2 separate regions of the Homo sapiens genome follow, and region 2 is linked to region 1. The links are contacts of gene promoters, found by promoter capture Hi-C in blood cells and fetal thymus (Javierre and others, 2016). All regions are on one chromosome and are shown on one strand. Each heading gives the region's core, a stretch centred on a gene start or on the middle of the fragment in contact. The rest is flanking DNA. Distances are from core to core; before and after follow the strand shown. Region 1 holds the start of DDI1 (DDI proteasomal shuttling factor 1). Region 2 overlaps GRIA4 (glutamate ionotropic receptor AMPA type subunit 4).

Region 1 (4,232 bases), core at 959-3,458:
ACTATTAGAGAACCTGGACCACTGCCTGTCCCCACCTCTCATTCCCACCACTGTACAACTTGACTCCCAAGAAGTACCATAATTTCTTTTTTAAAAAATCTAATTTATTGCCTTTGTTTTATAGCCAGAGTTTCTTTGAATGCAGGAGAAATAGAAAATTAATGTAGCATCCTTGGAGATAAATCCACTTTCTCAAATATGGCAAAAATAGTCTTTAGCTGTGGATTGCAGGGTGACTGCAGGGGATCCAGGGGAAGGGAAGGTGTAAATATGAGGAAATTGGTCTTTATGCTGCCCCAAACAGACATGTATAAGTATTAGTTAACATCATAGTGTAACTGACCTACCATTTCTAATACCCTTCCCAAAGAAAACAAAACCTGTGAAAATGGGCATATTTCTCTCAGTAGAAAGAATTATTAGTGCTGATGTGAAATAGTTTTATGTGGATGCCTTGTAAGGTCTGCAGCCATAGCATTTTTCCAGGGAATTCTGCAAAATAGCAATGATTTGGATAAGCCACCTGTAATCTGATAGGATAGTGTCTCTAAAGGAAGAAGCTGGTTTTCTTTTTCATGGATTATCTGGAAATCAGCTGGAGCCTCCAGAGCCTTCCCAGGATGCCTTTCAGTGATCTCTGGACAAGGGAAATGGAAGAGGGACCAAGACCAAGGAATCAGGATTGACGTTAGTTACCCATCTGAGAACGTAGTCCCAAGGCCAGGTTTAGTTGTTACTGATGTTTTTTAATGATTACATTGCCAGTAAGCTCTTAACTTATAATTGCCGGGGACCTGAGGCTCCCTCAAGGTGGTAACATATTTATAACGTGCTTTAATGCTCTTTTCGTCCTGAATCCATGACTGAATGTGTAATTTCCTTGTCCGAAGACTCATCTTGCCCACTTACCATCCTAGAGCATAAGGGCAACTCTCCCTCAGGAAGAAAATAAGTCTGCGTGCCAGTGGTGCCGATGACCAGCACATTTTTCTTCAAATCGATGGAACATTGATGTCTCCGGAGCATATCTAGGCCTAGAAGCATATCCATGGGTTGATCCTCAAGTATGGAGAAAGAGCACTGTAAGAAATCACCTTCAATTTGAATCTGAGCTAGATGAACACGGCCAATAATTCTCTGTGTGCCCACTCCTTTAGCAACCCCAGCCCACCGTCGGTCCACCAGCCTCATGATGTTACATCGCTCGGCACAAGCCTGGCTCATAATGGTCATCTGGGCGCCCGAGTCAACAAAAGCCTTCAAAGGATGCCCATTCACTTTGCAGTTAATGTAGAGCATCGTCACTTGTCCAAAACTCTCGGGGGCCTCTTCTATCGCTATATTCATGTTTTCTTCAATGTTTTGCTGCCGGATTTCCTCTTCTATTTTGGCCTGAGCTTCCCGATCCAGTGGGTCGGCTGTGTAGAGACGAAGCCTCTCTTGCTCTCTCAAGGCCTTTTCCCTTTGCTGCTCCATCAGCACCTGAGAAAAGGTCTCAAGGCTTCCGCTGAGCAGGGCTTCCGCCAAGGGAGGGTTGCGTTCCTTGAGCAGGGACAGATCGTGGGGGTTGGAGAGCAGCATGCTGCGGATCAGGGCGGGGCTGCCCAGACCTTGCAGGCCGGCCACCTTCTCTCCTGACGCCAAGCCCTGTGACCGCTGGGCAGCGGGTGTGCGCTGCTGCTGCTGTCCAGGGTGCTGTGGACGGGAGCTGGACGTCCCAGGCACCGCAATGCCACTGAAGTCTACACGAGGCTGGTTCGGGGCACGCCCTGGAGCCCGAGGTCCCACATTGTCCTTCTGCAGTAAAACCACGATATCGCCATCTTTGAGGCCGTAGGAGCCCAGGGAACAGTGGTCCTCGATGAGGAGTCGCTCCATGTGGATGATCTGGATCTCTTCGACGGGGACTCTGGACTCCGCTTCGCAGAGGACCTTGAAGTTTCGGAGCTCAAAGTCGGGGCTGACCTGGAGAGAGAAGGTGACCTCGGAGAGGTCCCTCCGCACGCAGTACACGGTGATCAGCATGGCGGGGGCCCGGGCGGGCCGGGCTAGCAGAGGGCATGGGCGGCTCACTGGCGGGCTGGGGCGGGCCTGCGTCGTTGGTGCCGCTGCTCCTCAGGACTTGGTAGGTAGGGACCGTCCGGGCTCATTCACCTCTCAGAGAGGCGCGGACACTCATCTGTCTGGGGGCTGTCTCCCAGCCTCAGTGCCTGCTGTGTGGCCAGGTGGAGCCTTGAGGTAGCACGTTGTGTTCCAAAGTCCATTTCTAAGTGTGCTGTTTGGAACCTAGAATGCCTACTCCCATGGATACACGATGGCTCAAAGCTGTCAGGTTTCAAGGCCAGCCCTTCAAAGCCTATTTAACACATGATATGAAAGAAATGATTTCAACACATTTTTTTTTGAGACAGGATCTTATCCTGTCACCCAGGCTGGAGTACAGTGGCATAATCACAGCTCACTGTAGCCTCGACCTCGTAGGCTCAAGCAGTCCTCCTCTCTCAGCCTCCTGAAAAGCTGGAACTACAGGCACAGTCTACCATGCCCGGCTAATTGTTGTATTTTTTTTTAATAGATTTGGGGTCTCACTGTGTTGTCCGGGCTGGCCTCCAACTCCTGGGCTCAAGCAATCCCCCACACTTCGGCCTCCCAAAGTGCTGGAATTACAGGTGTGAGCCACCATGCCTAGTTTTTCAACACTTTCTAAACAGCATATTATCATTTGTTTTGTTCATTTTAGAGTTGTATTCTTTGTACTTTTGTTTTTTCCCCAAACAGTAAGGATTTGTTTCTTACATGGCAAGTACCATTCTATGTGCATAGTAGGAAAGTCAGATTTGGAGCCTGCCCTTGAGGAGCTCACATTTCTGGAAAGGGATAGACAGGTGAATGGGTAATCACAATACTAAAGGCAAAATCTTTTACAAAGACATGTTCAGGGTACTGCCTTTAGTATCACCAACAGAACAGAGGATATTTTCCTAAGGAGGAGACAAGCTGGATGTTGAAGGATGAGCATCTTCCAGGTGCAAAGTGGTCTCACTCCAAAGGAAAGCAGTTTCATGTTACAAAAGCAGGAATTTATGGCAAGGGCTGTTATTTCTAGAGAAAGATGAGACATTTTGTGCAATAAAAAAATTGTACATGACTTTGAATACCAGGATATGAAGCTGGAAAAAAATTAGTTGAGCCAATTGATGAAGTCATATGTGAATCTACGGAGTTTAAATATTAAATATTATCAATTAGCAAGAATTCCTCCTCCAAAAAAAAAAAAAAAAAAAAAGAAAAAGAAGTAAGGAAGGAAAGGAAAGGGAAAAGATTTGAAGCAGGTGTTTGTGATTTTTTTTTTTAAATTGACTTAAGGAAGAGGCTTCTTGCAACACATGGAGGACATAATGTGGCAGGAGGGCCAGTCAGGAGGCTTTTCCAGTGGTTCAAAGAGGGAGCTGTTGCTAGAGTGTGGAAAGTCAGGAGGCCCAAAGCCAAAGCAGTAGAGAATAAACATGTTTCTTGAGTAAAATGGACAGAGTGTGCATACCCCTTGGAGGTGGGGAGTGTAAAAAAGTGGAATGTGTGGATAACACAGAGGGTCTCTAAAATGGGATATAGGGTAGATGGGCCATTGCCTTGAAGGGGAATGAATGAATGAGTGAGATGAACCTTTGAGGTGACCCATTTGACATCAGTTCTGTAGGAAAATTCATTAAGGATGCCACCCTAGAGGCCAATATGCCTCTCTCTGACATTTGGGCACAGCCACCTTCTCCCTACTCTCCCCCACCCCCACTTACACACACACACATACAAGGCTGTCATGGTGAAAAGTCCTTCAAGGCAAATGATGATTGGGTAGAAATCCTTGCATGCCAGTTATTTTTCTCTATGTTTAATAAAGTGTTTTGCTGCCTGGCGCGGTGGCTCATGCCTGTAATCCCAGCAGTTTGGGAGGCCAGGGTGGGCGGATCAAGAGGTCAGGAGATCGAGACCATCCTGGCTAACATGGTGAAACCCTGTCTCTACTAAAAATACAAAAAATTAGCCAGGCGTTGTGGTGGGCGCCTGTAGTCCCAGCTACTCGGGAGGCTGAGGCAGGAGAATGGCATGAACCTTGGAGGTGGAGCTTGCAGTAAGCCGAGATTGCGCCAGTGCACTCCAGCCTGGGTGACAGAGCGAGACTCCATCTCAAAAAAAAAAAAAAAGTGTTTTGCACTGTGCAGAGCTCATGTTTC
Region 2 (4,794 bases), core at 1,947-4,446, 1.7 Mb before region 1:
TTGAGAAAATTAATGTCACCATTGATGATATTTGAGGGGACTTATTTTCTAAATGCTTGATAAAGTTGGGTGTCATTATTAGAAAGAGGTACTTTCTGACAAGGGTACAATATTTTACCTTTTTAACTATTTAATATAAGGTTGAAAATATTCTATATACCTGTTGACTGTTCATATGTTTTATTTTATGGAATGACTGCTTATATTTTTGTCTGTTTTTAAAATTTGGTTTATTTTTTCATGTTGATTTGTAATTAAACTTTATATTTATTTCCAGTCATATATAGTGAAATGGTTTTTCCTAGCTGTCATTTGCCTGTTAATTTTGTTTTCATACAGAAAATTAAAATTTTTTCAGGCCTATTTTTGTCTTTAAATTTTTTCCTTTGTTTTTGTGCTTAGCCATATCTCCTTTGGCCAAATAAATACATCATTACATAAATAAATAAGCATATATAGTATCTTTAGCATGCCTTCAGATTTTACATGTCAATATTTACTATTTTGTATGGTAAGTTAAATAATGGTCCCTGAAAATATCCAGATCCTAATTCCTGGAATCTGTGAATATTGTCTTATGTGAAAAATATGTGTTTTGGAGATGTGATTAAATGAAGGGTTTTGAGATGTGGAGATTATCCTGGATTGTCCATGTGGCTCTGTCGTCACAATTGTCCTGGTAAGAGGGATGCAAGAGGAGAAGGCATGTGAAGATGGAGCTGGGAGAGATTTGAAGATGCTAGGCTGCTGGGCTTTAAGATGGAGGAAGGGGCCAAGTACCAAAGAATGCAAGGAATGGAGCTCTGGAAGCCTGAGGAGGCAGAGAAATGGATTTTACTCTAGAGCCTCCAGAAGGAGCTTGGCCCTGCGAACACCTTAATTTTAGCCTAGCGAAACTAATTTTTCCTTCTGACGTTCAGGATTGAGGGAGAATAAATGTGTGCTGTTGTAAGTCACTGACTTTGCAGTAATTTATTACAGCATCCATAGAAAACTAATATATATTGATAATGTGTTGTGAGAGTCGATAAAATGCAGGGACTTAATTTTATTTTTTCAAATAACCAAATGATTAAGCACTGTTTATTGTGTAATACAAAAGTTTCAAACTGACCTGAAATGTCATCCTTATTTTGTACTAAATCCCTAAGTATAATTCATTTCTTTATTCTCTTTTATTGATAGGGCTATAAATTTTGGATCAGGAATAGAGTTGAATATTTTTATTTTATAAATTGTAACATCTGGTAAGAAGGCACCTACTCCCTGCTTACATTTCTCCTACCACCAATATGCCTTTACATCTTTTTATTAGCCTCAAACATTAATACTACTTCAAGATGAATGTTAAAACATATTTGCCTTTTGAATAAACAAGTTCCTGAAATTAAGATATACATTTTTCCCTATTCCTTCAATTTCCACTTTTATTATTTCATATTTCCATCTTTTCTTAGAAATCTTAAGTGCTGTTTTTATTTTACATGTAGTAGATTTACTTTTATCTTTTACTATTTAATAAACTTTTTAAGTCTATAAATTTATATCTCAGTATGGCTGTGATTCATTATTTAAAGTGCTATTTTGGTTTCTTTTCATTATTTTTAAATAGTTTTATATTAAATTTTTGATTTCCTCTTTGCCTCAAGCTCTTTTTTTATATTTCAAAATATATTTATGTAAATCTTTGTTTCTAATGATTAATTTTTGCTATTAGCATATATTTATTTATCACTATACTAGCAAATGTGGCTTCTATAATTTTTACTTTTCTGTAATCTACTAATTTTGATGGTACTTAATATATAGTCAATTTTTATAAATGTTCCATAAAACATATACAAAAAAATTTATTCTCTTTGTAGCATAATTAATTTTATATCTTAAAATTCATTAGGTATAATATTCAAATCCCATATATCCATATTTTAATGATATTTTTATTACTTATTAGTACTTATTACTTTAATTATACTCTTACTTTTTTTTTTTTTGCCCTCTTTGAATTCTTAGAGAATTCATGGTTTATTGTATCAATTTGTTATCGACCATAGATTATCTTGTTAATTTTTGGTATCTGTCATTTTATTCTCCCCAACCAGGTGGAAATGTACCCTGTTTAGGCCCAGGACCTACCTTAGCAACCTTGATTGGCTCACAAGCCAGGTTGCTGAAGACTTGTTTCCCCAGCAGCTGGTGTCCCTACCTCCTGCCTAGCCCTTTTCCTTTTGCTTTGTCTGTGCTTGGGAAATACATGTTATACTCTGTAGATCAGATTTGCTGGCAGTAAGAACAGAGATGCGTAGAGCCCAGCGTGCTGGAGGGCTACTTCTAATGATACTCCTGTATAAACCAAGGGTAATATTTTAAAACTCTATAATTTTTAATTATATGTGTGGATTTGATATTATATTAGTTCATGGATAAACATTATAGATTTAAATATTAATTATGAATTCAGTTATTATAAAGCCAGTTCATTAAATTCTTTTCAATTTAGTTGCTTGTTTTATAGAAAATTAATATATACCTGCTATTTTGTTTGTTCCTTTCTTAAATAGATGCTCAACCCCTTGGTTGGAACCATTGCTATGTTTCTTTTAGATTTGTCTCTTCTTTCTCCCTCTTAAGGACAAAGAAGGGACCTGTACCTTGTACTTGTAAGAAGGTGAAATTTCAATAGACAAACACGGAGAAAAGCACATTTAATGTATAAAGTCAATAATTTTTTAAAAAAAGAATGAGAAGGAGGAGTAGGGGAAGGTGGAGGAGGAAATTGACACTATTTAGCAATGAATGGGTAGCTTAAAATTCTCTGTGGCTTTGTAAACATGTATATTCATTTCTCTCCTCATCTGCATTGTTGAATTCATTTTGCTGTGTTTAGACTTGAGATGTTTCCCTCGCTCTCTTTTTTTAGCTTCTTGAGTTAAAGCTTAGCTTATTTGTATTAGTTTTCTTGTTTTACAATAAATGTCTTCAAAGCTATGAAATTTTCTTTTCTTTCTGTACTTTAGTTACATCCCACACATTTTCATAATTTTTTATTTGGAAATAATTTTAACTTATGGAAAAGTTTAAAAATAAATATAATACAAGAAAGACGTATATATTCTTTACACAAATTTACCTATTGTTAATAGGGACACAAACATATATAAGTATATGCAAATATGTGTGTGTGTGTATGTTTGTGTATGTGTGTGTGCATTTTATGGATAATATATACAGTTGACTTTTGAACAACGTGACGGTTGGGGCACCCACCCCCAACTCAGTTAAAAATCTGAGTATGACTTTTAACTCCCTCCAAAATTGATTAACACATATTTTATATGTTATATGCATTATATCCTATATTCTTTCAATAAAGAGAAAAAATGTTATCAGAAAAATCATAGAGAACAGAAAATACATTTACCACATTGTACTGTGTTTCTCGATACTGTAAGCTTACATTGTCTGTTTAGAAGATGAATTGTCTGTCTGAATTGGTGAGCAACTGTGGCTGCAGACCTCAATCTATGGAACATATCAAGCTATCCAAATTTTTCTTGTAATGTCACGACATTTCTATGCCTCTTGAGAGCACTTCCAGCATTGCCAGTGGCACGGGTACGTTGGCGTTATTCAGGGTTTATGGTATTCACTAAACATGATGGAGAATCGTGAATAATCTCTTTTTACTGCAATAGGCAATTTAGTGGAGAGTTGTGCTGTTTAGGTAGAGATGATTAGCATCACATGTCGCTTCAAGTGAATACTCACAACGCTTGAGCTCACTGCATTAGCAAGAGGAGGTGGCTATGAAATTATTACAGTGGATTAGTATGTACTATAGTCAATTTTATGCAGTTATGATTTAATACAGCATCTTTAAGTTTATTTACATTTCTCTCCACTGCAAATGGAGCTATGTACAGTCTGTGTGTGTGTAAGTTTTGATACATTTTAATTTTTATAATAGATTTATATATATTTTATTGTAGTAAATGATAAAATAGACTAGTATTTACATGTATTTTAGGCATTCACAACATGCCTAAATATAAGGCTACATGGTTCATCTGCAAGTTTTTTCAAATTGTTACAAATCAAAAAATTTTCCAATATGATTATTTAAAAAATTTACATGTAATGGACCTGTGTAGTTCAAAATCATATTGTTCAAAGGTCAACTGTACTTCTTTTCTGAAGCAAAATGCATAAATCATGACTTTTTACTCCTAATTACTTCAGTGCATAGTTTCTAAGAATAAGCGAACATATATACACTGTGTAAATCAATATCTGGTTTACAAAAAAATGTCCCTTATACCTTCTTAGAGAAACTTGTTTGCAAAAAGGACAAAAGCTCCAGCATGATCTCATATAGAGACAGGGATTTGGGAACGGTTCATATCAAAATCTTAGTTAGGGCAAGGGCAAAAATAGCATTGTCCCCAAAGAGAATGTTGACAGAGCAGAGTTGAGTAATAAGGGTTGAATATAGAGAATACTTATGTCTACGGTCAGGGATATAAGGCAGAAAACATGAAATATTGAACATAATCATAGGAGCATAATGTTTCAAAAAATAGTGCAAAATAGCTTTTGGACAAAGGAAGGTTAGTTTTTGAAGAGGTTAAATTCTGTAGAGTGGGCATGGATAGAACTAGAATGGCAAAGGATTAAGGAGTAAAGATGCAGAAAAAGCTTTGTAGAGTATGCTTTCAATGAATATGGCAATGAAAAACCTAGCATAGTGGCTTAAGAGAGTACAAGTTATAGAGGGTATTTGATTGTTCATAGGTT

Evidence for each region. Contacts are between HindIII fragments. The CHiCAGO score rates a contact against its expected background, and 5 or more counts as called.
Region 2: a contact is called between a fragment that was not itself captured here and the fragment with the promoter of DDI1 in region 1, in 1 of 17 cell types (non-activated CD4 T cells). The highest score is 5.2, in non-activated CD4 T cells.

What each region holds. Positions count from the first base shown.
Region 1 is chr11:104,034,616-104,038,847 of GRCh38, reverse strand. DDI1 (DDI proteasomal shuttling factor 1) reads right to left here and starts at 2,208. Exons shown (of 1, transcript NM_001001711.3): 1 at 1-2,208. The coding sequence starts at 2,025. The coding sequence ends at 835. All of the region lies in intron 1 of PDGFD (platelet derived growth factor D), which reads left to right. The HindIII fragment of the contact is 9,840 bases long and covers 1-4,232 here.
Region 2 is chr11:105,771,073-105,775,866 of GRCh38, reverse strand. All of the region lies in intron 4 of GRIA4 (glutamate ionotropic receptor AMPA type subunit 4), which reads right to left. Among named protein-coding and RNA genes, the nearest start is that of GRIA4, 160 kb to the right of the region's middle. The HindIII fragment of the contact is 517 bases long and covers 2,938-3,454 here.